4 separate regions of the Homo sapiens genome follow, and all the other regions are linked to region 1. The links are contacts of gene promoters, found by promoter capture Hi-C in blood cells and fetal thymus (Javierre and others, 2016). All regions are on one chromosome and are shown on one strand. The core of a region is centred on a gene start or on the middle of the fragment in contact, and the rest is flanking DNA. Distances in the headings are between cores, read along the strand shown. Region 1 holds the start of MTRES1 (mitochondrial transcription rescue factor 1). Region 2 overlaps CRYBG1 (crystallin beta-gamma domain containing 1). Region 3 overlaps CRYBG1 (crystallin beta-gamma domain containing 1). Region 4 has its middle 16 kb from the start of ATG5.

Region 1 (3,651 bases), core at 184-2,683:
CACACCTGTAGTCACAGCTATTTGGGAGGCTGAGGCTGAAGAATCGCTTGAACCTGGGAGGGGGAGGCTGCAGTGAGCCGAGTTCACACCAGTGCATTCTAGCCTCGGCGACAGAGCGAGTGTCAAAAAAAAAAACAACAAAACAGGCCGGGCGCGGTGGCTCACGCCTGTAATCCCAGCACTGTCGGAGGCTTAGGCGTGCGGATCAGGAAGTCAGGAAATCGAGACCATCCTGGCTAACACGGTGAAACCCCGTCTCTACTAAAAATACAAAAAATTAGCCGGGCGTGGTGGCAGGCGCCTGTAGTCCCAGCTACTCGGGAGGCTGAGGCGGGAGAATGGCGTGAACCCGGGAGGCGGAGCTTGCAGTGAGCAGAGATCGCGCCACTGCACTCCAGCCTGGGCGACAGAGCGAGACTGCGTCTCAAAAAAAAAAAAAATAGCCGGGTGTGGCGGTGTGCGCCTGTAGTCCCAGCTGCTGGGGAGGCTGAGGCAGGAGAATGGCGTGAACCTGGGAGGCGGAGCTTGCAGTGAGCCGAGATCCCGCCATTGCACTCCAGCCTGGGCGACAGAGCAAGACTCCGTCTCAAAAAAACAAAACAAAACAAAACAAAACAACACCCTGTGGAATAAAAATTGATCAGGAGGACGGGTGCATTCGAATGAATCAGGAAAAGAACACGCAATGATGGACCCTGGGAAGTGACCTGATGGAAGTTCATTTTAAAAGATCTCTTTGGCGTTGGTGTGGGATGAGTGGAGAGATGATCACGGCAGAATCCCATAGGAGGTTTTGGGTGACATCTTCAGGAGAGGTATACAATCTGAACTAACCGAAGACTGTAAGAAAAGCAGTGTCTGTAAAAAAAGCAGCGCTGACTTTGACCTGCTTGACGCCAGGAAACGCTCCACATTCCTGAGCCCGTTCACCGCTCCGTAAGATGGAGAAACTGGTCTAAACGCTTTGAAGTCTAATGCAGCTAAAGATCCTTCCCTTTACTTGGAGACCTCGGAGGCTGTGGGCTGAGACAGGGTCGGATTCCTCTCGCTCCCTCCCCACCCCCGCGGGCAGTGCACCTTCCTGGGTCCCCAAGGTCAAAGGAAATGGACAACTGCGTCCCCGGGTTCGCAGTCTGCATTCGGAGCCAGCAGGAGCGACAGGAGGCAGGAACGGAAGGCTTCGCCGCGCTCAATTACCACAGTCCCTGCGCAGCCCTGAGCTCGCGGGGCGTCCCGAGGCTGGCAGGACACGGGACACTCACGGGGAGACCCGGCGGGAGCGTGGGCGGGGCGGAGAGGCGAAGTGACAGGGGGCGCGGGCAGGGGGCCCGGCGCGGCGCGCCAGCAGAGGCGCACTCACCTGTACGTCAGGCCCTCTCGTCCCTCCCCGCGGCCGCGCGGACTGCAGGCCTCCAGGCTACCCCTATCTGCGCCCCGCCCCTTCCGCCGGCGCCGGCGCAGTGAGAGCGGGTCGGGCGGGGCGCGAGGCCAGGGCGGCAGCGAAGCAGCGACCCCTGCTGGAGGCCGCGTCTTGGAGGACTGCGCGGGAAGTAGGCTCGGGGCACACCATTCTCCCGGGTTCACGCCATTCTCCTGCCTCAGCCTCCTGAGTAGCTGGGACTACAGGCGCCCACCACCACGCCCGGCTAATTTTTTTGTGTTTTTAGCAGAGACAGGGTTTCACCGTTTTAGCCAGGATGGTCTCGATCTCCCGCCCTCGTGATCCGCTCTCCTCGGCCTCCCAAAGTGCTGGGATTACAGGCGTGAGCCACCGCGCCCGGCCATCTTAATTCTTTTTTCTTTTTTTTTTTTTTTTGAAACCGAGTCTCACTCTTGCCCAGGCTGGAGTGCAGCGGCGTAATCTCAGCTCACTGCGACCTCCGCCTCCCGGGTTCAAGCGATTGTCGTTCCTCAGTCTCCTAAGTAGCTGGGACTACAGGCGTGAGCCACCATGACCGGCTAATCATCTTAATTATTAATGAAGTGATCCTTTCTCTGGGACCACTAACCCCTTTGAACATTTTTTTTTTTGACAGGGTCTCACTCTGTTGCCCGGAGTGCAATGGTGCGATCTCGGCTCACTGCAACCTCTGCTACCCAGGCTCAAGCTGTTCTCCCCACCTCAGCCTCCCCAGTACCTGGGACTCCAGGTGTGTGCCACCACGGCCTGCTAATTTTTGTTTTGTTTTGTTTTGTTTGTAGAGATGGGGTTTCGCCATATTGCCCAGGCTGGGACTCAAGAGAAGCGATCTTCCAGCCTCAGCCTCTTAAAGTGCTGGGATTACAGGTGTAAGCCACCGAGCCCGCCCTCTTTGAACATCTCCAAGAGATATAGGCGTTGTTTCCAGAAAAATGTGCAAATACGTCAGACTCGCAGTTTAAGGAAACATCTTTTCAAGACCAACGCAATTTACACGTGAGCCAATTCCCCTTTCCCTCCCAACCAACTATCCATCCATTCGTCCATCCATCCATCCATCCATCCATCCATCCCTCTCTCATTAGGTCTGTCTGTGGAGAACTCTGACTCATACACCAAACAAGATGTCACCCTGCAACATTCTAACAAAACTTCTAGTCAAAGTCACAGATGACCTCTGCAATGTAAATCCAAAGGTCTGGTCTCATTCCTCAACTTACTTGAGTTATAGGATACCCCATTGGTTTCACCTACCTCACTTGCCACTTAATCTTCTTCCCTGTTTTTTCTTTTGTTTTGTTTTGTTTTTTTGTTTTTGAGAATGAGGCCTGCTCTGGCCCCCAGGCTGGTGTGCAATGGCATGATCTCTGCTCACTGCAACCTTCACTCTCGGGTTCAAGCGATTCTCCTGCCTCAGCCTCCTTAGTAGTTGGGACTACAGGTACGCACCACCATGCCCGGCTAATTTTTGTAGTTTTAATAGAGACAGGGTTTCACCAATATTGGCCAGGCTTGTCTCAAACTCCTGACCTCAAGTGATCCACCTGCCTTGGCATCTCAAAGTGCTGGGATTACAGGCATGAGCCACCACTCCCAGCCAGCTGTTTTTTCATTACATCCTTAGAATGCCAAAGAGTAAGTGCCCCATACTTAGACCTCTAATCTTTTTCCTTTTTATCTATCCTAGTTCCCCAGTCGATCTCCAACAATTTCGTGGCTTTAAATATTATCTATATATGGACGATCCTCAAATTTGTATTGCGAGCCGAGATCATTCTCTTGCATTCAAGACTACAACTGCCTACTTAACATCTTCACTTGGAAATCTAACGGAAATCTCAAACTTGATAGGACCAAAACCCAGATCCGGGTCTCAATGCGTTCCTCCCACAGCATTCCTTATTTCAGTTAATGAGTCTTCCACCCTTCCTGTTACTTAGGTCAGATATCTTAGAGATACACTCAATTTCTCCCTTTCTGTCTCACCTGGGATTAGAGGCGTGCACCACCACACCTAGCTAATTTTTGTATTTTTAGTAGAGATGGGGTTTTACCATGTTGGTCAGGCTGGTCTCAAACTCCTGACCTCAGGTCATCCACCGCCTCAGCCTCCCAAAGTTCTGGGATTATAGGTGTGAGCCACCACGCCTGGCGGCTTACCTTTCTTCAGGCTATCCTCAGGACAATAACCAGAGTGATCCTATTAAATCACAAATCAAATCCTGTCATTA
Region 2 (3,553 bases), core at 366-2,865, 660 kb after region 1:
AATGAGCTTTAGTTTTTTCATGCTGTGGTGAAAATATTTTGAGGTTTAGAGCCAGAAAGAAGTATTTCAAATACTGCTCTGTCATTTATTAGCTAAAATACTTCTTTCAGGTTCTGTCTTCTCAGTTATAAATATGAAGGTAGAAATACCTATTTGGCACAGCTACTATGAAGACTGAATGAGATACACTGATATGAAAGCAACTGTCACATAATAAGGAATTGTTCATGTCCCTTGTCTTATACACAATTGACAAAATGTCCTTATGTTTATTTAGTTTATAGGAGAGATTGAGAATTATCTGGCCAAAAAGAATCCTTTCCCTTCATTCCCGCATGCCACACCCATCTTTCTCAGTGAACGTGCTCAAACCCAACTGTTTTTATTAGGTTGGTGCAAAAGTAATTGCAGTTTTTGCCATTAAAAGTAATGACAAAAGGCCAGGCACGGTGGCTCACGCCTGTAATCCCAGCATTTTGGGAGGCCAAGGTGGGCAGATCACCTGAGGTCAGGAGTTTGAGAGCAGCCTGGCCAACATGGCCAAATCTGGTCTCTACTGAAAATACAAAAATTAGCTGGGTGTGATGGCACGTACCTGTAGTCCCAGCTACTCAGGAGGCTGAGGTGGGAGGATCACCTGAGCCCAGGGAGTCAAGGCTACAGTGAGTTGAGATTGTGCCACTGCACTCCAGCCTGAGCAACTGGAGACCCTATCTAAAAAAAAAAAGTAATGACAAAAACAAAGTAATGACAAAAACCTCAATTACTTTTGCACCAACTTATACGTTTGTTCTTTGTTGATCAGTTATGGAGTGGCATTAAGATATAAAATGGTGCTCCTCTTTGTTTAACTTCTGCTGGCTTTGTAAGTTAGTGGAATTGTAGCCAATGTATGCTTATACACAGAAAGGCAACCAGAAATCCTGCAGTGAGAAAGCAGATGCATAAATTCCTGAGGAGCGTCTCTGTAGGAAGAAACTACATGATGATGGAGACATCGCCTCTCTACATTGTCAACAGTTATCAGCTATTGTGACTGGTTGTTTCCTCATGGGCATACAAAAAAGCTTTTAATAAAAGTGGAACAACAGGAAAGGATACAATTAAGTGCCAGCAATGCACCTAGCTACTAAGACTTCTAGGCCAAAGTACTTGAAACCTTTTACAGGGTAACATTACGACAATCACAAAATGCAAATTAGTAAAGGTCAAAACTTTTGAGCAAATGCAGACATTCAGTCCTACTTTGCTTTTATCTTGAAAGAAATCCAAAATCTAGTTTTAGACAAGCTTGTTTAAACATGTATACTGATACACAGGAATACAAGTGCTCTTGTTTCAAACCCTACGTATGTTCCAATGAAGGACTCCTGATTGATAATTGAGTCCACTCCAGACAAAATTGTTTTGGATAGCCAATACAAAAGAGAATAGTTCGGTAATCCCACCCTTGCAGTAACTACATTTTCTTGTTTTGCTGATAATAACAACCACTTAGTTCATGGGAGCTAAATGGTGGGGAAGGAAGCCAACAGTGGGGAAAGAAGCAAGGCAGTAGAGCCAAGAGTGGCTGGCAAGGCCTGGGTGAGCCTCCTCTGCCCAGGCTTGAAAAGGGCCAGTTCTTAGGTTTGTAATGACATGCATGATAAAGGAGACATTGAATTTCAGTGTGAATGTCAACAGTTGCTTCAACTATCATACCTTTTACTAATAGCAGATGCAAAAACTCAAGCTGTGCTTTCATGAGATATTTATGAATCCATCAGTATTATGAAAACATTTAAGTGACAAATTATGAATACACTATATTACGTGTCACAGCACCAGCATTACTTCAAGCCTTGTAAAGGGAGTTCTTGCATAGGTACAATATCATACTGATAGGCTCTATCACTTTAAGTGACATTTTGTTGTTATAAAATATGGCTTGTGCAAGCTTTTTAAAAAATCATGAATTGAGTTATTTTTATTTTTGTTGGCTTTTTTTAGGTAGTAGGTGAGGTACTAATTATAGTAGAAACCCAGAAATTATCCAGTATGTCAATAACCAGACTATAGGTGCTGGCTGAATAACTAGTCACTCAATCTAGGGATCAGACAGTCTCATCGTTGTTAGTTTATGAAACTAAGGGAAGATTTCCAGGGGAATAGTCATCAGGAAGTCAGATGAGTCAGTTGGGCTCCTGTCAAAGGTGGGTACAGGCCAGGAGTGAAGGTATAGTACACAATGCAAGAGAACCCAAAAGAACAGCTAAGAAAAAATCAGAAAATCTGAGTTTTAGTCCTGCTTCCTCCACCTGCATTACCTTCCATGAACTTCAGTTTCCTTATCCTCAGAATGAGGGTATGGGCTTATTTCACAGAACCCTTATAAGCCTCAAGTGGGATAAAGTATCAGCAATGGTTTACAATCCTTGAAGTGTAAGGTCAATGTAAGGTGGAACCTGTATTCATTGCCAGGGAATCCTCAAGAATAAGTCAGGAGGTAAAACCAATGGATTCAAGCAGCAGGGCTTCTAGAGGCCTAAAGTTAGAGCAGCCAGGAGCAGCTTTCTGCAGCAACTGGTAAAGCAACTACTTGAGAAATTCTGCCATGCCTCTTTAGCATGGGCAGCAACTAGAGGGCCCCCCATCTACCACTTATCTCTGACCTTGCATTCTCCTGCCTGTGTCAGGGCAGAAGAAGGGGTACGAAGTAGGTCCACCTCTTGGTAATGCTTTTTTCTGACACAGCTTGGGCAGAAGCCCCAAACTCAGAATCTACACATGATACTTTCATTTATAATATATACTTTTGAATTTCTGTTTTAAAATCTTTTTTCATCTAAGATTTTAATGAACTTATATTTCTATTAATTAACATATTTCTTTCCACTATTTAACGTAGAAATTGTCTAGTACCAAAACTTAATTTATCATATGTATTTTAATTTCTACTTGTGAGATCTAGAGGCTAAATGAACTCATATAAGAATATAAAGAAAGCACCATTAACCACAGTGATTAACTTGCAGGGATTTACCTGCAGTGATTAACCACAAGGACTCAAGATCACCGGCTGGGGAATCCCAGCCTCACTCTTAATGAGCTCTGTGACTTTGACCAAATAATCATACCCCTCTGTGCCTGATTTTTCCTCAATATGGGACTAATAATAGTGCCTACCTCTGAGGAAAGTTATAAATTAACTGTAGTGGGTTAATATTTGTAAAGCACTTAGAACAGTGTCTGATACATAGTGCATATTGAATAAACTGCATCTCTCAATCAAATATTGATGGGAAACAATGTTTTCACAGACATGGTCTGAAGTTATTATAAAGCACATGCTTCCTCTATTTTCTTATCTTATATGCAGCATATATTATTTTGACCCTTGATCCTAATCATAAGATTAAAAAACGAATCCAAAGACTATCATGAGCTTATGCTACTACTTATAAACAAATTTGAAAAAAATTAAGAGGTGTACTCTGCATGGTGACTTTATGTAACTGTTGGCCAAATCTCATATTTGAGCTGTCGATATTACCTTTGGAATAAACCTAAATTC
Region 3 (3,676 bases), core at 415-2,914, 590 kb after region 1:
AAGGGTGTTCCAATACCACTCTAACCTCCTTCTCCCCTCCCTCCACCTCAGACTTCCAGCTGTGGTCAGACAGATTTGTTTGCCCTTCCCATACATACAACTTGCTTCATTATTTATATGTCTTTGCTTGGGTTTTCTATTAATGCTTTTGCCTCTCCTCTTTGTAATCTTTGGCTATCAAATTCCATCAAGTCTAATTTCAAAATTCACTTCCTCCAAGATTTCCCTGATTGTAATAAATCCTGTTTCATAAGCCCCTAAAAGTCAATTTCATGTAGCTGAAATATTACACTACAGCAAAAAGAAAAGGACATCGTTATAAATCACAGAATTGTTTCAATACTAGTTTTTAAAAAGAAAAAGAAAGCAATAAAATGGTGTGAGAAATAGTGTCTATTTTTCTCAAGTGTAGATTATTCTCTTTTTAAGAATAGGGATTATTGAGAAACATCAGTTTCATCAGAAAGAGATGGTGGGTGGAGAATTTTTCACAGGCTGTAACATGACTTTACAGAGCTTTTGTTGTTACCACATGTTGATGATTATTATTTCTAATTTCACATCAAGATTCATGGTTTTTCCCTTTCCGTCACACAAATGCATCACTAGCTTTACTTTTAGGCTTTACAGCCATCAACTGAGTGATAGTGATTAATAATGGAATGAAAGGGGAAACAAAGAATGGAAAGAAAAAAAGAAAGGGGCCGGGTGCAGTGGCTCACACCTGTAATCCCAGCACTTTGGGAGGCTGAGGCAGGTGGATCGCTTGAGATCAGGGGTTCGAGACCAGCCTGGGCAACATAGTGAAACCCTGCCTCTACCAAAAAAATACAAAAATTAGCTGGGCATGGTGGTGTGCGCCTACAGTCCCAGCTACTTGGGAGGTTGAGGCAGAAGACTTGCTTGAACCCAGGAGGTGGAGGTTGCAGTGAGCCAAGATCATGCCACTGCACTCCAGCCTGGGTGACAGAGAGAGACTCTGTCTCAAAAGAAAAAAAAAGAGAGAGAGAGAGAGAGAGAGAGAGGAAGAAAGGAAAGTGCTTCAAATAAGGTGAGGATGTGCTTTAAAGGAAGGAAAATTCTATATGTGGAAATAATGTAGCTGAGGGAGAGTAGAGGGCAGAAGAAGAGAGGCAGCACAGCAGGTGCACAGCCCTGGAAGGGGAAAGCCACCAGCCCCACGTCTTCCCTGGGCTGGGTGCTGGGACTGCCAGGCTTAACACAGGCTTCTTGTACAGCTCTTGACACAGAGAACTGAAGGATGTGCATAATGCAGGGGAGAGAAAGTAAGTGGTTTTGAACTTCGAGGTTCAACATTATGAAATACCATTTTTGTAGGTCAAAACCAGTCAAATATGGCAATTTCATATAGTTGCACCTAGTACTATTTAGTAAGTGTTCATCTAGGTTTTCCGGGAACATATATCAGTTTCTCAATTTAATCATAGGCTTTTTAGGAGCTAAGAACCATATCACCTTCTGTCTCTATAACCTGTACTCAGTGGGTATAAAACAAATGCTTTTTTTTTTTCAGTCAGGGATGATACAAAACAAGTTTTTTTCTTGTGCCACTGGTTGAGGCTTCCAGTACAGAGAGAGTTGAGTCACTAAACCACAAAGCATTCTGTCCCAAGAAAATATTTATTTTGTTTAACAATATTTTAAATTAGGGAGTGTTATCTCATCAGGTAGAATGATGAGGACTCTTGAGTCAACAATCTCTGCTCACAGGAGATTTTTATTCCTGCAGTCAAGACGAAGGTAGAAACTTTCACTTTGTGAAAATTGGGCACAATCTAACACAAAGAACCACTGTATTCATATTCTTCAGTTAAAATATCTTCATATTGTCTTTGTACCAAATTTTAAAGAATATTAACAATAATTCAAAAAGGAAACAAACTTATTTTTTATAAACTGAATAATGGTAGGACATATAAAGATGCTTCTAAAAATGAGAAATTCATAAAATTAAAAAGGAGATAATTAAATTTTATTAAAATTTTCTATTTCACACATTGTTTAAAAGGGAAGAATAAAGGCTATTGGTATTTTTCCCAGCTTTGATAGTTGCTTTTTACTGAAAAGGATCAAAATATTTTATTAGCAAAATTAATTTCCCAATCTGTCATCCGTTTTTTTCTTTAAAAGAAGAAAATCTTAGGTTTTCCTCACTTGGGAACCACTCAAAATATTTTTCTCTTTTTTTTTTTTTTTTCATTTTTTAAGTAAATTGATACCAGGTCTCACTATGTTTCCCAGGCTGGTTTCAAACTCCTGGGGTCAGGTGATCCTCCCACCTCAGCCTCCCAAAATTTTGGGATTACGGGCATGAGCCACTGCACCTGACCATATTTTTCTCTTGTTACCAAATTTAACAGTTACAATTTATGCTACTAGACTTTAAATATGAGAAAATCACATAACTGCAATTACTATTAACTCATTTATTTTTGAAAACCGAAAATATTTGACATCAAACCATTACATGAATCATTCCAATGGATTATTCATTTTGTCCTCTCACTTTCCTATCAATAGTTTATCTGTTTTACTAGTAGAAAAAGGAAGATATTGATCAACCGAAGAAATACCATGCAAAAACTTTGATTCTCTGCTTAAAATGTAAGCATGTTATGGGAAAGCAAACACATATGGATTATGGATTTACTATTTGCTTATAGACAGAGCCACACGCCTGTGACAATGCAGGAGGAGACTGGAGTGACGCAGTGGGAAGCCAACGAGAACACCAAGGATTGCCAGCAGCCATGGGAAGCTAGGAAGAGCAAGGAGGGATCCTTCCCTAGAGCCTTCAGAAGGAGCACGGTCCTGCTGAAACTTTGATTTTGGACTTCTAGCCCCCAGACTGTGAGAGAGAAAAAACTGTTAAGTGACCATGTTTACGGCAACTTGTTATAGCTACCCCAGGAAACTAATATACCACGCTACCCCAACGTGAATGTGCATTCTAAAAGACAGCTTGAGGAGAGGGCAACGTTTAACACAGAGATGAAATAACAGGTATTTCTGGCATCAGTAATAACTCAGAGGAAGAGATCTTTTTAGGGACGCTGGCCTTCAGAGTAGTTTTTAAATGAGGCTTGGCATGTGCCAGTCTCTTCCAGGGAGGTGTAGAATGGGCTGTCTCTTAGTAAAGCACTCTACTAAGCCCTGTGGAAGGAAGAAAGATAAATAAAAAGATGTACATGCCCTTTAAAGTCATCCAGGCACTCCAAAGACACCAAAAGTCCCAACATAAAAAGGTGCTGTCTCAGGAACTAAGAAACCTTGAAATAAAATCAAGAAGTACTGAGAGAGAATCTCTGAGCTAAAGAGAACTGTGTATCTCTATATCGTCCATTCCTTTAAATCCCAGCCAAGTTATACCATATCAAAGATAATTCCTGGTGGCTAAAGAATTAAATGCAGAAACATCAAATCATAAAGATTAGGAGCGTATTATGGCATATTAGAAGGGAAGGAAAACAACTTCCTACGATTAAAAGCAATGAGAGAAATAAAAAAGAAAGGCTAGGTGCAGTAGCTCATGCCTGTAATCCTAGGACTTTGGGAGGCCAAGGCAGGAGGATCAATTGAGCCCAAGAGTTCAAAACCGGCCTGGGCAACATAGCAACACCCTGTTTCTACGAAACAAACAAAAATCAGCTGAGTG
Region 4 (3,548 bases), core at 9-2,508, 690 kb after region 1:
CTTAGGAAGGTTAAATAAATGTGGCTACAGGCGCATGCCACCACACCTGGCTAAATTTTTGTATTTTTAGTGGGGACAGGGTTTTGCCATGTTGGTCAGAGTGGTCTTGAACTCCTGACCTCAGGTGTTCCACCTCCCTTGGCCTCCCAAAGTACTGGGATTACAGGCATGAGCTGCCACGCCTGGTCAAAACATCCTGCTTTTTAAATGAAGTATCAGATTAAGACATGTAGGCAAAAAAGCAATGTAGCAGCAATGCATGAAGAATAGGTTTATCTGTTAATCCCTAAATAGCTGGTATTTGAGTATCAGGAACTACAGAGACATCTAGAGGGGAAGAGGAAAGGTCTGAAACCGTGGCCAAGAGACGCAAAGCTATGCACTGCCCCTCAGAACTTCATGATGGCAAAGAACAGTTTATTGTGTTGAACTTTTGTTTACACTGATGTGTATATATTAAAATAAGACGTATTTGTTAAAGTGTGGTGGTGGTCAGGAGAATACACTTCACAGATCTTTACTGAGTGAGAGTGATTGATTGAGGGCCCAGGGACTGAGCATGCTGGAGATTAGAGGGCAGTCCTATTCCATGGGACTCCTCTGACTGATGACTTTGGCTTGAGACATCTAAAAATTTCTTGTTGCACCTACCTTAGGCTAAACTGGCTTCTATCCACCTGCTCCTTTGCTCCACTGACAGCTGGCTTTCCCAGCCCCTCCTCTCTCCCTACATTTTCCTTTTCTTTTTCTTTTTCTTTTTTTTTTTTGAGACCAAGTCTTGCTCTGTTGCCCAAGCTGGAGTGCAATGGTGTGATCTTGGGTCATTGCAACCTCAGCCCCCCGGAGTTCAAGTGATTCTCCTGCCTCAGCCTCCTGAGTAGCTGGGATTACAGCATGTGCCGCCATGCCCGGCTAATTTTTGTATTTTTAGTAGAGGCAGGTTTTCACCATACTGGTCAGGCTGGTCTTGAACTCCTGACGTCAGTTGATCCGCCCGCCTCCACCTCCCAAAGTGCTGGGATTACAGGCTTGAGCCACAGAGCCTGGCCTTCTTTTTTTTTTTTTTTTTTCAGGGATGTCCCCATGTTCCCTGGGCCAGTCTCAAACTCCTGGGCTCAAGCGATCCTTCTGCCTCAGCCTCTCAAAGTGCTAGGATTACAGGCGTGAGCCACCATGCCTGACCCCCCTACATTTTCTATCACAGAGACTTCTCCTAGAGAAATATTTGTAAATTTAATCCTGTCCTGGAGTCTGCTTCTGGGAGGACCCAGACTAACATGAGTGATAAATGTCTTCTTAAGAAAATGCCTCCAGTCTAGACTGCTCCCTCAAACTCTAGATCTCTTTAGATGTTACCATAAAATTCCATAAGGATACTTTGCAGGTAATCCCCCACCTTTTTAATAGACTTAGTTTTTCTTTTTTCTTTTTTTTTTTTTTTTAGACTTAGTTTTTCTAGAGCATTCTTAGGGTCATAAGAAATTTGAATAGAAGGTACAGAGACTTCCCATATATCCTCTGCCCCCACACAGGTATAGCCCCCCACTAACAACATTGCCCACCAGAGTGACATTAACCAACTTTGAGCTCTAGGGAACACATGCTAAAAATTTTCTTCTTATCAGTTTTATAATTTCTTTGTATCATTAATATTAATACTTCAGCAAACAACAATGCTTAGAGACAGTGATTCATGGGCTAATTTTAGACAGTCCTCACTACATAAATAAGGCCTGTAGTTTACAACTGATGAACCTACATTTACACATCATTATCACACAGTGCCCATAGCTTACCATAGGGTTCACTCTTGATGTTGTACAGTCTAGGGGTTTGGATAACTTATAATGACATATATCCACCATTCTAGTGTCATGCAGAGTAGTTTCACTGCCCTAAGAGTCACTGGTGCTTTGCCTGTTCATCCCTCCCTCCCTTCAACCCCTGATTTTTTTTTTTTTTTGAGATGGAGTCTCACTGTGTTGCCCAGGCTGGAGTGCAGCCATGTGATCTCAGCTTACTGCAACCTCTGCCACCCAGATTCAAGTGATTCTCTGGCCTCAGCCTCCTATGTAGCTGGGATTACAGGTGCCCACCACCACACCCAGATAATTTTAGTATTTTTAGTAGAGACAGAGTTTTGCCACATTGGCCAGCCTGGTCTTGAACTCCCAACCTCAGGAGATCCAACAGCTTCAGCCTCCCAAAGTACTGGGATTACAGGCGTGAGCCACCACACAGGGCAATCACTTGTCTTTTAAGTGTCTTTATAGTTTTACCATTTCCAGAATGTTGTGTAGTTGGGACCATACAGTATGTAGCCTTTTTGGGCTGGCTTTTTTCACTTAGCAACATACATTTAAGTTTCATTAAATGTCTTTTCATGACTTGATGGCACATTTCTTTTTAGTGATGAATAATATTCTATTTGTCTGTATGTACCATAGTTTATCCGTTCACCCACTGAAGGATATCTTGGTTGCCTCCAAGTTTTGGTATTTGTGAATAAAGCTTCTACAAACATCCATATGGATAGAAGTTTTTGTATGAACACAAGTTTTCAACTCCTTTGTGTAAATACCAAGGAGCCCAATTGCAGGATCAGATGGGAAGATTGTGTTTAGTTTTGTAAGAAGCCACCAAATTGTGTTCCAAAGTGGCTGTACCATTTTGCATTCCCACCAGCAATGAATGAGACTTCCTGTTGCTCACATCCTTGCAGGCGTTTGGTGTTGCTAGTGGGTAATCTCGTTTTGGCATTGGTCTTGGTTAACAGCCTGAACACTAACACCTCAGCCGCCCTCACAAACTCACCCAATCAGTCACTAAAGTCCTTGATTATTCCTCTTGAACATTTCTTCTTTCCACCCTCTTCTTCATCCCACTGCCTTGCCTTTGTCATCATTTCCCAGTTGACTGTGGTAGTTTTTCAATTGCTCCCATTGCCTCCAGAGACATCGCCAGTCAAAACACACTTTATGTTAGCTGGGTGTGCTGGTTTGGGCCTGTAGTCACAGCTATCTGGGACAGTCCTAACTACATAAATAAGGCCTGTAGGTTACAATCGATGAACCTGCATTTACACATCTATCATGCAGTGTCCATAGCTTACTACAGGGTTCATTCTTGGTGTCGTACAGTCTAGGGGTTTGGATAAATTTCTAATGACATGTATCTACCATTCTAGTATCATGCATAGTCATTTTATGCCCTAAAAATCCTTGGTGCTTTCAGGGAGGCTTGCTGCCTCAGGAGCCTGAGGCAGGAGGATCATTTGAGTCCAAGGCTACAGTGAGCTATGATCGCACCACTGCACTCCAGCCTGGGTGACAGAACAAGACCCTGTCTATTAAACAAACAAACACTCACTACGGTCTGAGAAAACTTCCAAAACCACACATCTGGTCATATCATGCCTTTGATTGAGACTTTCCGTGGATCCCCTCTGGTTACAGTGTCTTTAGAACCTTTTTAACATGACCCACTGGAATAAAAACATTCCACATCAGGACTCAATAAACACATTCTTATTCAAGATATGCACGTGT

What was found. The method cuts DNA at HindIII sites, captures the fragments that hold promoters and counts their contacts. A CHiCAGO score of 5 or more calls a contact.
Region 2: a fragment that was not itself captured here is called in contact with the fragment with the promoter of MTRES1 in region 1 in 2 of 17 cell types (M1 macrophages and naive B cells); the score reaches 5.5 in M1 macrophages.
Region 3: a fragment that was not itself captured here is called in contact with the fragment with the promoter of MTRES1 in region 1 in 1 of 17 cell types (neutrophils); the score reaches 6.2 in neutrophils.
Region 4: a contact is called between a fragment that was not itself captured here and the fragment with the promoter of MTRES1 in region 1, in 1 of 17 cell types (M2 macrophages). The highest score is 6.3, in M2 macrophages.

Annotation. Positions count from the first base shown.
Region 1 is chr6:107,025,981-107,029,631 of GRCh38, reverse strand. MTRES1 (mitochondrial transcription rescue factor 1) reads right to left here and starts at 1,433. Exons shown (of 4, transcript NM_016487.5): 1 at 1,361-1,433. RefSeq lists enhancers at 715-814, 925-1,034 and a silencer at 1,145-1,614. The HindIII fragment of the contact is 13,635 bases long and covers 1-3,651 here.
Region 2 is chr6:106,369,437-106,372,989 of GRCh38, reverse strand. All of the region lies in intron 1 of CRYBG1 (crystallin beta-gamma domain containing 1), which reads right to left. Among named protein-coding and RNA genes, the nearest start is that of CRYBG1, 10 kb to the right of the region's middle. The HindIII fragment of the contact is 646 bases long and covers 1,293-1,938 here.
Region 3 is chr6:106,437,593-106,441,268 of GRCh38, reverse strand. All of the region lies in intron 1 of CRYBG1 (crystallin beta-gamma domain containing 1), which reads right to left. Among named protein-coding and RNA genes, the nearest start is that of CRYBG1, 79 kb to the right of the region's middle. The HindIII fragment of the contact is 5,946 bases long and covers 1-3,676 here.
Region 4 is chr6:106,340,273-106,343,820 of GRCh38, reverse strand. No RefSeq gene overlaps it. Among named protein-coding and RNA genes, the nearest start is that of ATG5, 16 kb to the right of the region's middle. The HindIII fragment of the contact is 2,511 bases long and covers 3-2,513 here.